Linked DNA regions of Homo sapiens: region 1 is linked to region 2. The links are contacts of gene promoters, found by promoter capture Hi-C in blood cells and fetal thymus (Javierre and others, 2016). All regions are on one chromosome and are shown on one strand. Each heading gives the region's core, a stretch centred on a gene start or on the middle of the fragment in contact. The rest is flanking DNA. Distances are from core to core; before and after follow the strand shown.

Region 1 (2,700 bases), core at 49-2,548, 2.6 Mb before region 2:
AAAAATTGTTGTGTATATGTTAGCCTTGCCTCATTAAATTAGATGCAGTGTGTTACAGTGAAAAAAGCATGGAAGTTGTGGTGAAAAGAGCTGGATTTGAGTCTTGGCTCTGCTGTTTACGATAGCTTGTTAACTTGCCTTAGCCTCATTTTTCACATCTATAAAATGGGATAACAGTACCTACCCTCCGTGTTACTGTAAGGGTTCAAATGAGATAAAGTAAATGTGTGGGCTCCATAATTGCCAGGGCCTTCCATCCACGCTTTCATTATGTTTTAGCTTTCTCTGCAGTGTGAGTCCTCAGCCCCCTGGGCCACGGACCAGTACCGGTTCATGGCCTGTTAGGAGCTGAGCCAGACAGAAGAAGGTGAGCAGCAGGCGAGCAAGTGAAGCTTCATCAGTATTTGCAGCCACTTCCCATCACTCATGTTACTGCCTAAGCTCTGCCTCCTGTCACATCAGCAGTGGCATTAGATTCTCAAAGGAGTCTGAACCCTGTTGTGAACCGTGCATGTGGTGGGTCTAGGTTGTGTGCTCCTTATGAGAATCTAATGCCTGATGATCTGTCACTGTCTCCCATCACCCCCAGATGGGAGTGTCTAGTTGCAGGAAAACAAGCTCAGGGTTCCCACTGATTCTATGGGAACAGAATTCGTTATGGTGAATTGTATAATTATTTCATTACATATAACAATGCAGTAATAAAAATAAAGTGCACAATAAATGTAATGCACTTGAATCATCCTAAAACCACCCTGCTCCCCTGGTCTGTGGAAAAATCATCTTCCATAAAACCAGTTCCTTTTATCAAAAAGGTTGGGAACCACTGCTCTACAGGTGAGAAGCTTGCTTGCTGACAGCTTCCAAGCTGATATCCCACAGCTTTTGTCCCTGGAAAAAGACTGGCATTTTTTACCTTGAAGAAAAGAGCTCAGATTGGCCTGGCTTAGAGATATGCCCATCCTTGAACCAATCCTTGAACTGTGCTTGAGTGGATGGCGTCATACAAGAACCTGTCAGCTTCTGCTGTTGCCTTTGGATGAGACCGAGAGCCCCAGTTGCCAGAAGTTCATGATGGTGGACAGACAATATTTTAGAAATGCATTAAGATTCTTAGGCAGATACCTGGGTTTGAGTTTCAACTTTACTCCTTGATAGCATCTTCATGTAACAGGCACATATTCTTGTTCTGTCTACCTCTGTTCTGAGAATTACCTGAATTCATGCATCTAAATGTTCTTTATGAACTCTAAAGTATTATGCACATATTAGTAATTACACCTCTGGAGATAAAGGGAAGAGAATTACTTTGGTCCTTTCCTGTGTGATTAAGTTCTTTCTCCTCACATTGTTTCTACTCCTGTATCCTTTCCTGTATTTATTTTTAATAATCTCATAGAGTATGTGCTTCTAAAGGGAGCTTTTCCCATATATATGTAAAGCCACGTTTGTTTTAAAGATACAAAAGATATGATCAAATTGTAAACAGTAGAGATTTAGCATCTTCTGAACTTGAGCTATTCATTTGGCATATTTGTATGGTTTCGGATGGAAAACTGCTACTAAATCAGATTTTAAAATCTTGATTGAATGATACGATTTTTGACATTGTTGAATATTAACTTTCCAGGAGATCTCAGCCCTGCTGAGCTGATGATGCTGACTATAGGAGATGTTATTAAACAACTGATTGAAGCCCACGAGCAGGGGAAAGACATCGATCTAAATAAGTAAGTGGATATAAAGAGAGAGCAAGCTTGTTCTTAGGTAGCAGATCTCTTTTATGAAATTATCTAGTACTACTTGTTTTCCAGCTCAAGTTTTATTTTAGTTGAGAATTTTAGCTTTCTGCCTTGCCTTGTCATTCATTTCTTTTTTTTTTTTTGCAAGTTCCGCCTCTGGGGTTAACGCCATTCTCCTGCCTCAGCCTCCTGAGTAGCTGGGACTACAGGCGCCCGCCACCACGCCTGGCTAATTTTTTGTATTTTTAGTAGAGACGGGGTTTCACCGTGTTAGCCAGGACGGTCTCGATCTCCTGACCTCGTGATCTGCCCACCTCGGCCTCCCAAAGTGCTGGGATTACAGGCGTGAGTCACCGCACCCGGCCGTCATTCATTTCTTGATGGCAAAATTGTCTCAGCTTAAGAATACTAATAGCTTCTAACATTTATTGGGCACTTACTGTATTCCAGACACTGTTGCTAATGCATTGTATGTATTAGCTCAGTTAATCCCCTCAAAATTCTGTGAGATAGGTACTGATACCAGCCACACTTGACAGGTGGGTAATCTGAGTCAGAGAGCAGTTAAATAATTTGTCCAGGGGTAAGTAACTAGTAATTGGCAGAGCTGGGATTTGGAATTAGGTCAGCCGTCTCCAGAGCCCATGTTCTTCTGTGCTGCATCGCTGCACATCCTACTTTCCTTCCCTACTGTCTCAGCTGAAGCAGCAGCTTTCTGTCAGGAAAACCCTCCCTTTGGGGCCCCTGATCTAATCCAACCCTCCCCTGCTGTAGAACCTCTTTGACACATTCATCCACTTCCTCTCCATAATCATTTTCAGCTTGGACTTTCCTACAGTCTCAAATAAGAGTTGTCTTTCATCTCTGCATCTATTTTTTTTTTCAAACTATAATATATATTCACTCTATGTAGATCTTCCCTAATGAAAGGGTTCTCTCCCCAACCCCAGGTCGTCTA
Region 2 (2,700 bases), core at 161-2,660:
GGGCGGGCACACCAATAACTTGGAAACAACATTTATTTTTAGAATGAGTGCAGTGGCTCAGGCTTGTAATCCCAGCACTTTGGGAGGCTGAGGCGGGAAGATCGGTTGAGTCCAAGAGGTTGAAATCAGCAAGGGCAACATAGCGAGACCCCCATCTCTACAAAAAATAATAATAATTAACTAGGCGTGGTGATTAGCCCCCTGTAGTTCCAGCTACTCAGGAGGCCAAGGTGAGAGGATCCCTTGAGCCCGGGAGTTCGAGGCTGCAGTGAGCTATGATGGCCACTGCACTCTAGCCTAGGTGACAGGGCAAGACCCTGTCTCAAAAAACAAACACAAACAAAAACCCTTATTTTCAAAAATTATGAATTTTGTAAATCTCAGGATTTACATCCCTCTGTTTTTAGTTTTGCAATCCACATAAAACCAAGACAAAACAAAAGCTCTGAGAACTCACCTACTCAAGGTCGCCTTGGCTGCAATTCAGATCACCCGAAAATCCCAAAGCCCAGGCTGCACTTCAGACCAATTAAGTCGGGAAACATCCCAAAGCCCAAGTGCACCTCAGACCAATTAAGTCGGGAATCCAGGCACCCTCAGGTGATTCGAATGTGTAGCCAAGGTTGACAACAACCGCTATAAATCATTCTGCCCTTGAAACGGGAGAACCAGGATCTACATTTTTCAAGAACCAGGATCTATGGCACCGTCACCCTCGTCCCTACACACAGGCCACCAGCAATGTTCCCAGATGCAGTTTTGTGTTTCACGCGGTCAAGAACAGAATCCAATCCTCTCCCACTTGGACAAGTGAGGATGGAGGAAGGTTAATCTAACCCGCCCCGGCCCTGGTCAATATCGCATCCGTGCGGAAGCAGACGCTGGCTCGGCTTTGCGGGCCGCAGAGAAGCCCCCGGACGCCTCTCTCTCCTCCACCTGCTGGGTTCCTGGCTTCGGAATGGGGAGTTGCGGGGGTGGAAAAGAGGAAAGCCCAGCGCCGGGGGACAGGATCGCCATAGGAACGAGCACAGGCTGTCCCCCGAAAGACCGAGACAAAGAGGCGCCCCCCGCCCGAACAAACCGGCGGTACTCACGCAAGTGCCACCCAGCTTGTGGCTCTCCACCACGGCGGCCCTGGCACCCAGCTCGGCCGCCCTGCGCGCGCTGGCCAGCCCGCCCGAGCCGCCCCCGATCACCAGGTAGTCATAGGAGGCCACGGCGCCAGCAGCGGGCGGCGGGCCCTGCGGCTGCGGCTCCTGCCTGCAGGCCATGGCACGGGAGAGGGCGCGCGTGAGGGCCGCGGGCTCGGGCAGAAGCAGCAGGAAGCCTCGGAAGGCGCGCGCCGCCCGCCGCCAGCTCGGTCCCGCGCCGGCGCTCAGGGCTCGGGGCAGCAGGGCCATGCACGCGGAAGTGGCGCGCCAAGTGGGGCGGGCGGCCCGGGGGCGGTCCCCGGGGTAGGGGGGCGCGGGCCCCGGGCAAGCGCAGCCTCACGGTGACTAAGCATGCGCCCGCCGCTAGGCAAGACCCAGGAGGATGCCCAGAGGCGGGGCCGCCTCCCAGTTCCCCGCCCCGGTGGCGGAGCCTGAGGGGTTTCTCCGCCTCCGTTCTCACCCCGGCCCCTGGATCCCGAGCGGCGCCTGCCGCGTGTAGCCTTCTGAAGTCCGGTGGATCGAGGCGAGGAACGGTGAACGTCCTCTCGTTTCAGCTGGCTTTTCCCGAGCTGGCCCCCTGGGGAGTTGCCAGTGGCACGGCTTCTCCAGGAAGAGAAATTTGCCTCTATTCGAAGGGTTGTTTGTCCAGGTTTGTTCCAGAGACCACTTTTGTTTGTTCTTGCTTTTTCTTTGAGACTGGGTCTCACTCTCCCCCAGGCAGGGGTGCAGTGATGCGATCTCTGCTCACTGCAGCCTCCACCTACTGTGCTCAAGCAGCGATCCTCCCTCCTCAGCCTTCCCGGTAGCTGGGAACTACAGGTGCCCGCCACAGCGCCCAGCTAATTTATTTATTTATTTATTTAATTTTTTTTTTTATTTTTTTTATTATTTTTATTTTTTTTTTAGAAATAGGGTCTCACTATGTTACCAGGACTGGTAGGGAACTCTTGGCCTCAAGCGATTCTCTCACCTCGGCCTCCCAAAATGCTAGGATTATGGTATGAGGTCACCACTTCTCCTGTTGTCCTTCTCAGTTTCTCCCCAACCTCCCCTTTTCCCTAGTTTATAAGACAGGAGAAAAGGGAGAAAGCAAAAAGTTGGAAAGAAACAGAAGTAAGATAAATAGCTAGACGACCTTGGCACCACCACCTGGCCCTGGTGGCTAAGATAATAATAATATTATTAACCCCTGACCAAAACTATTGGTGTTATCTGTAAATTCCAGACATTGTATGAGAAAGCACTGTAAAACTTTTTGTTCTGTTAGCTGATGTATATAGCCCCCAGTCACGTTTCCCACGCTTACTTGATCTATTATGATTTTTTCACGTAGACCCCTTAGAGTTGTAAGCCCTTAAAAGGGCTAGGAATTTCTTTTTCGGAGAGCTCGGCTCTCAAGACGCGAGTCTGCCAACGCTCCTGGCCGAATAAAAAACCTCTTCCTGCTTTAATCTGGTGTCTGAGGAGTTTTGTCTGTGACTCATCCTGCTATATTTCTTGGTTCCCTGACTGGGAAGCGAGGTAATTGACGGACAGTCGAGGCAGCCCC

The links. The method cuts DNA at HindIII sites, captures the fragments that hold promoters and counts their contacts. A CHiCAGO score of 5 or more calls a contact.
Region 1: a contact is called between a fragment that was not itself captured here and the fragment with the promoter of GSR in region 2, in 2 of 17 cell types (activated CD4 T cells and total CD4 T cells). The highest score is 5.8, in activated CD4 T cells.

Annotation. Positions count from the first base shown.
Region 1 is chr8:28,095,589-28,098,288 of GRCh38, forward strand. It overlaps ELP3 (elongator acetyltransferase complex subunit 3), which reads left to right. Exons shown (of 15, transcript NM_018091.6): 2 at 1,631-1,730. Among named protein-coding and RNA genes, the nearest start is that of ELP3, 3.8 kb to the left of the region's middle. The HindIII fragment of the contact is 911 bases long and covers 844-1,754 here.
Region 2 is chr8:30,726,436-30,729,135 of GRCh38, forward strand. GSR (glutathione-disulfide reductase) reads right to left here and starts at 1,411. Exons shown (of 13, transcript NM_000637.5): 1 at 1,095-1,411. The coding sequence starts at 1,400. It also overlaps a transcript of UBXN8 not described here. RefSeq lists an enhancer at 309-996 and silencers at 1,072-1,511, 1,582-1,671. The HindIII fragment of the contact is 11,618 bases long and covers 1-2,700 here.